Regions from separate parts of the Homo sapiens genome. Here all the other regions are linked to region 3. Evidence: promoter capture Hi-C in 16 types of primary human blood cells and fetal thymus (Javierre and others, 2016). All regions are on one chromosome and are shown on one strand. The core of a region is centred on a gene start or on the middle of the fragment in contact, and the rest is flanking DNA. Distances in the headings are between cores, read along the strand shown.

Region 1 (3,878 bases), core at 980-3,479, 410 kb before region 3:
CGACGTAATGCATTTCTGTGCCATTGCACCCCCCACCCATCTCGGAGAGCATCTGAAAATTAAGTGGGGCAGATGTAATTATGCATCTAATATGCAAGGTACATGTGCATGTAGAAGTGTGCATTGTGTAAACAACTGTATCAAATCAACTGCATGTATCTGCTTGGCTCACGTCCTACAAGCACAATTTTCATTTTATTCCAGTTACTTCTTTTTTTTTTTTTTTTTTACAGAGTCTCACTGTGTTGCCCGGGCTGGAGTGCAGCAGCGCCATATTGGCTCACTGCAACCTCCGCCTCTCAGGTTCAAGCAATTCTCATGCCTCAGCCTCCCAAGTAGCTGGAATTACAGGCATGCGCCACCACACCCAGCTAATTTTTGTACTTTTAGTAGAGGTGGGGTTTCACCATGCGTTGGCTGGTCTCAAACTCCTCACTTCAGGTGATCTGCCCACCTTGGCCTCCCAAAGTCCTGGGATTACAGGCATCAGCCACCATGCCCGGCCTTCCAGTTACTTCTTGCTGGCTAATAAATCACCCCAGAACCAAGTGGCTTAAGACAGCCATGAGTGTTTTGTAACAAGCATTGGATGACTATTTCCCCCAGCCCTGGGGACTAACTAGGCTCAGCTTATCTGGGTCTTTCATCCAGTTGCAGTCAGTGGCTTGTGTTTGAGTCATCTGAAGGCTTCCTCACTCACACAGCTGGCATTGGTGTTGCCTGTTGGCTGGGATCCCAGCTGGGAGTGCTGGCCTCTGTGTGTGGACTGGGCTTCCTCCTAGCATGGCGGCTGTGTTCTGAGGCCCAGCGTCCTGAGAGAGGTGGGCAGAAGGTGTATTGCCTTTTACGGCCTAGTCTTGTCAGTCGTGTAAGTTTTACCAAACTCACAGGCCAGCCTGGTTTCAAGGAAGGGAACATAGTCCTACCTCTCAACAGGAGGACTATCATTGCCACATTGTAAAAAAGAGCATGCAGGATGGGAGGCCTTATTTTGGCCACCTTGGAAAGTGAAACCTGCCACACATACCTTCCAAGTATGAATAGTAAATCATTGTGTTTTCCTTAAACTTCATCTCTAAGGAGGCCTGCTGGATGATTATTTGTGAATCTAGTGGTCATCACTGTCTGTGTTATGAACTTACAATTAATGAGCATGCATTTTCTTGGACGATAATAATCCATAATTCTGACTTCTTACTATTCAGATTAATCTTCTTCCCACTTTCCCGGTAAGAGTGACTTTGCTGTATTTCGGGGCAGATTCATCCTCCAAGTTACCCTTGCTGCTCCTGAAGCTGAGCAGATTAGCTCCCCAGAAAATAGCATTTTCCCAGAGGTGCAGGTTGATTTTCTCACGTCCCTCTTTCCGCATGGGAAACAGACTGCAGTTGAGATTCACATGCAGCAGCCTTGGGCTATTTCGTTGAGAATCAAATCCGCAGAGATGTGGCATGAAAGGAAAGAAGGCGAGTGCACAGCATGCTCTGGGCTTTCAGGTCACTCAGTGCTCCTCGGAGCCGCACCAGACACAGAAGACAACACAGGCTCCACCTGGGGGACAGGTTCCACACGGTGTGGCCCAGCGTGACAGTGAGGGTTCCTCCCATAACCAGCACGGGGCTCTATGTAAGGCCATTCCCTCCCAAAGGAAACTCTTGCGAGATCATTTTTAAGGCTAGTTTCTAGTCTTCTAGCAACCGGGCTGGGTTAGAATTCATGCATTTTTTTAGACTTCCATCCTCAGCACTGAAGGCCCACTTCTGAGTGTGCTCCAAGCTGTGCCCAGGGCAGGGAGATGATTCAGACACAGCTGTGCCCTCCACAGGTCACAGGTGGGTGGAGAAGAGTCATCCCTGCCCACAGGGACAGTTGGTAACAGGGAAAAGGGAAGAACAGGGCTAAGGGAACCCAGGAAAAGCCCGAGTCAGGTGTTAGAGAAGCAAGCAGCCAGAGTGGGCTGAGGCGGGGGGACGCGGGGGGACGCAAGGGGACGTGGGGTGACGGGAGGCCTCCAGCAGGGGTGCAGCTGTGGAAACCCAAGGAGCGCTGCAAGCAACGTAACTAAGGCTGGGCGGGGAGGGGAAGAGATGAAGCTGAAGTCAGTGGAAACCAGATGGCCAAGGGCCTGGAGAGCCGAGCCAGGGGTGGAACTTCATCCTGAGGGCCGTGGCGAGCTACTAAAGGGATTTCAGGAGGGCAGTAATACCATAAGATTTTGGAGTTTTCATTTTTTGTTTTTTTTTGGTTTCGGGTTTTTTTTTCTGACATGGAGTCTTGCTCTGTCACCCAGGCTGGAGTGCAGTGGCGCAATCTCGGCTCACTGCAACCTTTACCTCCCAGGTTCAAGCAAGCCTCCTGCCTCAGCCTCTTGTGTAGCTGGGACTACAGGCGCCCACCACCATGCCAATTTTTGTATTTTTGTATTTTTAAGTAGAGACAGGATTTTGCTATGTCAGCCAGGCTGGTCTTGAACTCCTGACCTCAGGCGATCTGCCTGCCTTGGCGTCTCAAAGTGCTGCGATTACAGGCGTAAGCCACCAGGCTCAGCTAAGATTTGGGTTTTCAAGGGGTGGTGCTGGCTGCTGGGCACAGTGGAATTGAAGGAAAGAGAAGTGGATTCTGGGGAGGGCATGGTGGCCACTTCAGAAGCTGCAGGATTCAGAGTTTGAGAAGCCCCAGTGTGCATCAGACCCAGCACGTTGAAATGTACCCACTACAAAGAAAAGAAACTTTTTATCTGAGGAAGGCGAGCCCCCTTTAAATGATCAGGCCTAGAGAGGCACTGGAATGAGACAGCTGTCACATCTCACTGCCCCACCTGAGAAAAGAAATCTCCTGAGGCCGCTTGCTGTGTGGGCTCTAGGCTGACTGGTACCAGTAGCTATGGATGAACCTAACAATGCCACACACTGGACACCATAACCCGTGCCCTGTAGTTCAACAACATATAGATAATCACTCATCAATGTTATTTCTGTAAACCGATGAGAATTCCTGAAAAACAATTTCGCAATCGCCCCTTTCCTGATTTGTCCTCTTGTATTTAAAAGCTCGAGCCTCTCTTCTCTGGAGCACTTTCCAAGGTAACTTGGGAGTGCTTCCTGGACTACAGTCCTCAACTGTGGCCCAAATAAACTCTCTACCTGTGTTAATTTCGCTTCCATCTCTTTCTATTGGTCAACACCACAATCTACATTTGAAATGTCATTCTTCCATGCTAGAATATGTATTCGGAAAAAAAATTTTTTAATTTTTTTCTGAAGTTCCTTGGCTGTAATACATTTCATTGACTCTCGGCTGTGATCTGTGGACAATGACTGTGCACACCTACAGACTCACTCCTCATCTTCGTGAGGCTGGGATAAAGGTACACACGGAGGCTGGTCCCACATCTGTAAAGGCCTCACATGCATGGCTACGGGCATCTCGGCCCTCATGTCCGAGCTCCATCCACCCTGCCCCTTAATCAACTCTCCCAACCCCACCCCACCTCAGGTCCAGGATGAACATTCCAGCAGTGTGGTCTGCCCACAGGGGAGACCCAGGGAAGAGGCCTGCACAGTCCTTAGAAAAAGGCTTAGGGTTTGAGGGTGAGGAATCCCAGGATCCCAGACACCTGGTGTGGGCTTCAGGTGGGCTCGTGCCCTTGGCCTTCCCAGCTAAGTGGTTCTGCTGGAGGAGGCAGACCAGAGTGGGACCCTCAAAGTCACAGAGCCCTGGGCCGAGACCCCCAAATGCTCAACTTTAAGGGTGATACTATCCTCAGGAATCCTTGCAAAGTAGGAAAATTGAACCCAGTGATTGTTTTCAAGATAGCTTTATGTTAATACTCAATTTAACCAATTAAAGAAATCGACATAAAATCAACTAACCCCATA
Region 2 (4,364 bases), core at 1,091-3,590, 440 kb before region 3:
TTCTTGAGTAATACTTCACAGGCACAGGCAACCGAAGCAAAAAATGGACAAATGGAATCACATTTTAAAAAATCACATCATTAAAAAGCTTCTGCATAGCAAAGGAAACTAGCAACAAAGTGAAGAGACAATCCACAGAATGAGAGAAAATATTTGCAAACTATCCATCTGACAAGGGATTAATAACCAGAATATATAAGGAGCTCAAACAATTCAATAGGAAAAAAAATCTAACAATTTGATTTAAAATGGGCAAAAGATTGAATAGACATTTCTCAAAAGAATACATCCAAATGGCAAACAGCTATGTGAACAGGTGCTCAACATCACTGATCATCAGGGAAACACAAATCAAAACTCCAATGAGACATCATCTCATACTAGTTAAAATAGCTTTTATCTAAAAGGCAGGAAATAATGAATGCTGGAGTGTTGAGAAAGGGAACCCTCGTACACTGTTGGTGGGAATGTAAATTAGTGCAGCCACTTGGAAAACAACATGGAGCTTCCTCAGAAAACTAAAAATAGACAGGGCGCAGTGGCTCCTGCCTGCAATCCCAGCACTTTGGGAGGCCAAGGCGGGTGGATCACCTGAGGTCAGGAGTTCGAGACCAGCGTGGCCAACACAACGAAACCCTGTCTCTACTAAAAATGCAAAAAATAGCCGGGCATGGCGGTGCGTGCCTGTGATCCCAGCTACTCAGGAGGCTGAGGCAGGAGAATCTCTTGAACCTGGGAGGTGGAGGTTGCAGTGAGCCAAGATCATACCACTGCACTCCACCCTGGGCAACAGAACGAGATTCCATCCCAAAAAAGAAAAAAATAATCAAAAAACAAAAAGAAAACTAAGAATAGAACTACCATAGGATCCAGCAATCCCACTGATAGGGATATACCTAAAAGAAAGTAAATCAGTAAATCAAAGAGATGTCTGCACTCTCATGCATTGCAGCACTATTCACAATATCCAAGATTTGGAACCGAGGTGTCCATCAACAAAAGAATAAATAAAATGTGGTACATATGCACAATGGAGTACTATTCAGCCATAGAAAAGAATGAGATTCTGTCATTTGCAACCACATGGATGGAAATGGAGGACATTATGTTAAGTAAAATAAGCCAGGCACAGAAAGACAAGCTTTACATGTTCTCACTCATTTGTGGGAGCTAAAAATTAAAACCATGGAATTCATGGAGATGAGAGTAGAATGATGGTTACTGGAGGCTGGGAAGGGTAGAAAGGGGTGGAGGGTAGGGACAGTTAAGGAGTACAAAGATATATTCAGATAGAATGAATAAGATATAGTATTTGATAGCACAACAGGGTGACTAAAGTCAACAATAATGTATTAAATATTTTTAAAATAACTAAAAGAGTATAATTGGATTGTTTGTAACACCAAAAAAATGATAAATGCTTGAAGTGATGAACACCCCATTTCCCCTGATGTGATTATTACAAATTGCATGCCTGTATCAAAATATCTCATGTACCGCATAGATACATACACTGCTATGTACCCACAAAAATTAAAAATAAAGATAAATGAATAAGATATAAAAAGCAATAGGGGAAACTGAATGAAGGGCATATGAGAAACTCTTTGTGTCATCTTTGCAACTTCTCTGTAAATCTAAAAAAAAAAATCAGAGTAATTCACTACTTGTGATGGTTAATTTTATGTATCAACTTGACTGAGCCACAGGTGGCTCAGATATTTAGCCAAACATTATTCTAAGTATGTCTGTGAGGGTGTTTCTGGATGAGATTAACATTTCAATCAGTAGACTGAGCACAACAGATTGCCCTCCCCAATGTGGGTGGACCTCACCCAATCAACTGAAGACTTAAGTAGAATAAAAAGATTGAGTAAGAGGGAATGCCTCCTACCAGACTTGTTGACCTGAGACATTGGTCTTGCAGGCTTTTGGGCTCAGAGAGAAACATAACTCTTCTTAGGTCTTGAGGCTGCTGGCCTTTGGATCAGCAGCTCTCCTGGTTCTCCACCTTGCCCACTGCAAATCTTGGGACTTCTCAGCCTCCATTATCACATGAGCCAATTCCTTATAGCAAATCTATATCTATCTAACTATCTATCTATCTATCTATCTATCTAATATGGTTTGGCTCTGTGTCCCTGCCCAAATCTCATCTTGTAGCCCTACCAGGGCACTGCCTAGTGGAGCTGTGAGAAGAGGGCCACCATCCTCCAGATCCCAGAATGGTAGATCTACTGACAGCTTGCACCATGTGCCTGGAAAAGCTGCAGACACTCAACACCAGCCCATGAAAGCAGCCAGGAGGGAGGCTGCACCCTGCAAAGGGGCGGAGCTGCTGAAGACTATGGGAACCTACCTCTTGCATCCACATGACCTGGATGTAAGACGTGGACTCAAAGGAGATCATTTTGGAGCTTTAAGATTTGACTGCCATGCTGGATTTTGGACTTGCATGGGGCCTGTAGCCTCTCTGTTTTGGCCAATTTCTCCCATTTGGAATGGTTGTATTTACCCAGTGCCTATACCTTCATTGTATCTAGGGGCAGAATGATATGGTTTGGCTCTGTGTCCCCACCAAAATCTCATATTGTAGCTCCCATAATTCCCACGTGTTGTGGGAGGTACGCAGTGGGAGATGATTGAATTATGGGGCAGGTCTTTCCCATGCTGTTTCATGATAGTGAATGAGTCTCATGAGATCTGATGGTTTTGAAAACAGGAGTTGTCCTGCACAAGCTCTCTCTCTTTGTTTGCTGCCATCCACATAAAATGTGACTTGCTCCTCCTTGCCTTCCTCCAGGATTGTGAGGCCTCCCCAGCCATGTGGAACAGTAAGTCCAATAAACCTCTTTCTTTTGTAAATTGCCCAGTCTCAGGTATGTCTTCATCAGCAGAATGAAAATAGACTAATTATCTATCTATCTATCTATCTATCTATCTACCTACCTATCTATATCTATCCACCTATACCTATATCTATCTATCTATATCTCTCTATCTACCTATCCTATTAGTTCTGTTTCTCTCTGAAAAACCCTAACTAATACACCATATTCACAGAAAGAAAAAAATGAGAAAACTCCCATGATTATCTCAATAGATGCAGAGAAGGCATTTAACAAAATTAATGATTAAAAACTCTTAGAAAACTAAGAATAAAATAACACTTCCATGATCTGAAAAAGAAGTCTACAGAAACCATCATAGGAATTGGTAAAATGTTGAAAGTTTTCTCCCTGAAACCAAGAACAAGACAAAGATGTCCATTATCACCACCTCTATTCAATATTGTATTGAAGGTCTTAGTCAGTGTAGAAGGACAAAGAATGGAGATGAAAGGCATCCACGTAGAAAAGAAAACTATAAAACTGTTATTATTTGCAAATAACATGATTGTGTTATTAGAAAATCCAAATGAACCTACCAATAAATGATTTTCAGTAATAAGTGCATTTAGCAGCATTGCCGTATACAAGGTCAATATACAAAAATCACTTGTATTTCTACATGCCAGCAACAAATGTTAGAAACTTAGAAAAGCTTTTGAAAAACATAAAACACTCTTAGGTGAATGAATATAATGAAAGATGTATAAGACTTCTATGCTGAAAACTACAAAACACTATTAAGGGAAATTAAACCCTAAATAAATAAAGAATATATACTATGTTAATCATTGAAAGGCTCATTATTTTTAGATGTGAAATTCTCCCCAAAATCATTTAAATATTTCATATAATCACATCCAATTCCCAGGAGAAGTCGCTTTTGGTGGAAAATGATAACCTAACTCTAAAATGTGTATGAAAATGCAAAGGCTGAGAATAACCAAGGTGATCCTGAAGAAGGAGGAGGCAGACGATGAGGATGAGAAGGAGAAAACTGAAGGTAATTAAGACACTGTGATATTGGTACAAAGGTAGAAATATAAACCAACAGAAAAAGAGTTTAGAAACTGATTCGAAAATATACAATCCCCTGATTTATGACAAGGACACAGGAGAACACTGGAGATGTGAGGGTCTTGTCAGTAAATGCTGGTGTTAATTGGATATATATTTGGGAAAAAAAAAAAAGGTATCTTCACCCCCTAACTCAAATCATGTCTAACAATTGAGGTAGGAGGTGGTATTAGACTCTGGAGGTGAGGCTCAGACACCAGACCAAATTGAGGACTAGCTAAAACAGGTCTAGGGCCAAAGCACCTCCACATAAGACACACCCACCAGTGTGCCACGCCAGTGTACCATTGCCATGGCAACACCAGGGATTTACCACCCCTTTCCGTAGCAACAACCTGATAACCCAGAAGTTACCGCTCTCATCCTAGAAATCTCTGTATAAACTACCCCTTAATTTGC
Region 3 (4,289 bases), core at 350-2,849:
CCACTATCCTTCAAGTTGATTATTGTAAAATACGTGTTTTCAATGTAAAATAACACAGTTATGGAGTTTGGGATATAGCCATGGTAACGACAGAACATACCCTGGTGTTTTAAGATTAGGGAAAGTCGGATAACATCAAAACAATTCTAAGAAAAAATTTTAAGTATTTTTCAGGCTCTATTAATTAAGAAGTACTTCAGTGCTTTTTTTTCTTTTTTTTTTCCAACACTACAAAGGCTAAAGATGTTATTATCAAATGTATTACTACATCATTGGCACAGTTTCTATTGGTATCTACTTGCTTTTTAATACGGAAGATGTTTATGATTTACACTCCTCCTACTTTAGAAATTCTCTCCATTCACTTCTTTTGTGCCCCTCCAGATATAATCTGAACTTCCAGGAATAGATCATTCTTGGTGTTACAAATGTTGGCTTCCCCCCTCCCTGGAATTCTATTAGAATGTTTCTGTCACTTTAGAAGCTTTCTTATTCTGGTGTAACATGCCAAGAAACCCAGGTATAAAATAGTGATTGTTGAATCTTACTTTGACACGTGTGCCCGTCCTTATAAATCTAGACCCTGTACATTACATGCATACAACTATCCCTATGGATCTACTAGTAAATAATCTCACAGACTCCACCTGAGGCTTCTGGAAAAAAAAACAATTACCTTAAATTTTATTAAGAGCTCTTCGTAACCTACTGAGCAAGATCAGTGAATCCTAAAAAGATTCAGTCCCCGGTTCCCAAAGCGCTTCCCCGCCCCGTGTTTCTGAACAGCTGGAGAGGACAAACCTCCGCTAAGAAGCGGAGGCCGCCAGTGCTCATCACACGCAGGAATTAGGATATCTGGCTTGAGAACACCTATGCTGTACCACATTCTTCTCTCCCCCTACCCCGCCTGAAATAAAACATAGTGAAGCGTAAATCTTGAGTCCCTTGGTACCTTCTCAGAAACGGCGGCGAGGAGGCTTCAGAGGGGCTTCCTGGGCGGGGATCCAGACGGTCGCGCGGGTATTCAGCACTCTGGGCGGGACAGTCCCTGTCCCGAAGGGAGGGCCCAGGAGGGGTGGAGCCGTCCCCGCCCGAACACGGGGGCATCCGCGCTCCCCGTAGGGTACCCCGCGTGCTGGCTCCGAAGCGGTGGCCGTCGGGGTGGCGCTCTTCCTCCGCTCTTTGGGGTCCCGGCGCCCCTCAGGGCAGGGCGGGAGACCGCTGAGGAGGCACCCTCAAGTTCACCTCAGGCTCATGACACCAGCCCCGCCGCGGTTCCCCCTGACCGGCTTTCCGCTGGCCCTGGCGGCTGCGGAACGGTCAACTAGACCCCACTAGCTGAAGCCGGCATCACCTGGGAAGCAGCCATGCCGCCCGGAGGCCACACCCGGGGGAGGAGCCTGCGGACGCCCAGTCGGGTGGAGCACGCCAGGTGAGCACGCCTGCGCAGTCGGGCCGTAAACAAGCCCACCCCTTCCCTTTGGCCCGCCCTCGCAGGGCTGGCCCGCGGGTGGGAGGGGCGAGAAGGAAGAGGCAGGGGGTGGGGGAAGAGGGAGCACCAGGAACAGCGCCTGCGCGGTGGGCGTGATCCGGGCACTTAGGGCAGGATGAACGCTGCTTTCCAAGATGGCGACGGAGGGAGGAGGGAAGGAGATGAACGAGATTAAGACCCAATTCACCACCCGGGAAGGTCTGTACAAGCTGCTGCCGCACTCGGAGTACAGCCGGCCCAACCGGGTGCCCTTCAACTCGCAGGGATCCAACCCTGTCCGCGTCTCCTTCGTAAACCTCAACGACCAGTCTGGCAACGGCGACCGCCTCTGCTTCAATGTGGGCCGGGAGCTGTACTTCTATATCTACAAGGGGGTCCGCAAGGTACCGACCCGGGCGTCACCGGAGCCAGCCAGCGGCGTAGGCAGAGGCCGGGAGCAGGGCGGTGACAGTGGGGCCAGGGTGACCGAGAGGGGTGGCCGTCGCTCTTACTTTTGAGTGGGCCGGTAACTCCACTGGGGTACTCCTGAGGAGAGGGGATTCAGGAGTAAGGAGGGTGGTGGCGGTGGCGTTTCGAAGGGGTGGGGGCAGTGGAAAGGGACCGTGGGGCGCGGGGGTTCTGGCTGGGAGGCTCCCGGGGGAGCCGGCTGCGTCCCCTCCAGCCTGGTCCATCAGGCTCTGACATGGCCAGGGAGCGGGCCTGCGAGTCCCCGGAAGAGGTGAGGTGGCCGTCTTGTCTGCTTCGATTGCCTCGCCTCCCTGGAGGGTTGGAAGTCTCGCCCTGGGTTAGAGAACAGGGACGCAAGACGGCTTAACAAGATCTCTGTAAGGCGGAACCGGGGCCGGGAAGCGGAGCATTGAGACTAGGTCAGAAAGAACCTGCTCGGCACGCAGGGCTACTCCACCTGCTGCCGCACTGACACTTCCTAGGAGCCTCTCCTGGTGTTAACATTTCTATTTCCAAAAACATCCGCGGGAGGACGGCTGTCACTGTCTCCGCCGTGGGGACCTTCTGAAAGATTGTTAAGGAGAGTCATCTTGTCCCTTGTAGTATGCGAAGGGCTGAGTACTACAGTTGAAATGATGTTTCCAGTGAACTAAGCTGGTTCAGAGGGGTTGTGTGAGAGTGCCCAGATTAATCTTGTCCAACAAGTCAGACTGTGTCCCAAACAGGGAGTGATATGCTTTAAAAGCTGCTTTAAAGGGACCATCCTTCTTGGCGGGCGAGTTACCGGTAATTCTGTGAAACATGTAAGCATCCTTTAAAAGTATCTCTTTAAAAGCAGCCATTTATTAGAGTTTTTCTTTCATTGGCTATGTAACTATGTTTTCACTGAGAATTGCTTATTTTTGAGATTGTAGTCTTTGACTTGATGTCATGGAAGAGTGAGGAAATTAATGCATCCCACAGCACCTCCAAATAGGACAAGGTGATAAAAGATTAAGTCGTAAATGCATGTTAGCATGAAAATAAATTGTTCATATTGAAGAGTGAACATTCTTCAGGATTTAATATAGCCAGATCCAGTACAGGATTTTCGCTTGTTACAAGAGCTAGGGAAATGACAGTGGTATCTAAATGTAGCAAAGTTGTTTCTTTGATTCAGGGTGAATCTTTTTTTCTTAGTCTTTATGATAATAAGTGTACCACTGTATTTAGGGTATGCTGTTGGAAGTTATTAAGGGTAAATCGCTTGACCTTTTTTTTTTCCTCGTTTGGAATTGCAAAAGCTCGAAGTAGTCTTCAGTCTAGGGGCTGAAGTTTTACTCCTACTCCCAACTTTGTCACTGACTTGTTTGGGTGACCTTGGATAAGTTATTTAACTTCTATTTGCACCTCTTTAAAAAGGGAATGTTACAGTGCACGTTGTAATTAATAATATAATAATCATAATGAACTTTAAGGCCCTGAAACACTCAGTAGATGTAAAATATAGTTAAATACTGACTGTCAAATAAGAAGCTGCTGTCTTGACATTGATAATCAGAGTGAAAGGACCAATTTTGTCTCAGGAAATTAAGTTTAGAATTTTAAGTTATAAAAATTTATATTTATATAAAAATACGATGTGCTTAAAAACTAAATTCACTAACTAGCAATTATTAATGTAGGAATTACTTAAAAATTTTTTTTTCTTTGAAATGTTATGACTTCTGAAGCATCCTAATGGCAGACCTTATCTGGATCTGGTAGCCCTGTTTTACATCATAAAGACAGGTTTCTTGCCTGGAAGTATCATTACAATAGTGTTCTCTTTTAGTGGGACGCTATTCCCTGAAGGGTAAAAGGAGGCAAGGTTTTTAAAACCACACCAAAAAATTATTTTAAACAAGATAAATGTGAAATACGTAAATTGCCCTTACCTGCATAATTTGAGTGTTTTAACGCTTTTTGGGTAAAATTTCATTTTCATGTGGTAGTATCTTGTAGATACATTTGCATTGTGTTGCAGATGTTTCTACTCTCTTTTAATTGTAACTTAAACATTTTTTTCCATGAATGAGTTGGCATTTATTTGTTGTTATTTCTGAGTATAAGTGACTTTTTATGACTATTTTCTGATTTAAAATATAGGAAATACATTTTCCTTAATTGGAAAACCAAAATTTACTTTTTAGAGTTAGTAGTTACAAACATATTTTTGACAGTTGGCTATTAAACATGTTTTTGTTTTTGTTTTTAGAGACAGGATCTCATCCTGTTGCCTAGGCTGGAGTGCGGTGGCGTGCTCATCGTTCACTACAGCCTCAAACTCCTGGGCTCAAATGATCTTCCCACTTCAGCCTTCCTAGTGGCT

What was found. Contacts are between HindIII fragments. The CHiCAGO score rates a contact against its expected background, and 5 or more counts as called.
Region 1: a fragment that was not itself captured here is called in contact with the fragment with the promoter of WDR20 in region 3 in 1 of 17 cell types (fetal thymus); the score reaches 5.0 in fetal thymus.
Region 2: a fragment that was not itself captured here is called in contact with the fragment with the promoter of WDR20 in region 3 in 3 of 17 cell types (total CD8 T cells, fetal thymus and total B cells); the score reaches 8.3 in total CD8 T cells.

Annotation. Positions count from the first base shown.
Region 1 is chr14:101,732,645-101,736,522 of GRCh38, forward strand. No RefSeq gene overlaps it. Among named protein-coding and RNA genes, the nearest start is that of LINC02320, 3.3 kb to the left of the region's middle. The HindIII fragment of the contact is 5,667 bases long and covers 1-3,878 here.
Region 2 is chr14:101,700,051-101,704,414 of GRCh38, forward strand. The region is part of intron 1 of LINC02320 (long intergenic non-protein coding RNA 2320); the gene reads right to left. Among named protein-coding and RNA genes, the nearest start is that of LINC00239, 28 kb to the right of the region's middle. The HindIII fragment of the contact is 2,402 bases long and covers 1,140-3,541 here.
Region 3 is chr14:102,138,298-102,142,586 of GRCh38, forward strand. WDR20 (WD repeat domain 20) reads left to right here and starts at 1,600. Exons shown (of 3, transcript NM_144574.4): 1 at 1,600-1,875. The coding sequence starts at 1,627. It also overlaps a transcript of HSP90AA1 not described here. RefSeq lists a silencer at 840-1,035 and enhancers at 1,636-1,685, 1,696-1,855. The HindIII fragment of the contact is 7,184 bases long and covers 483-4,289 here.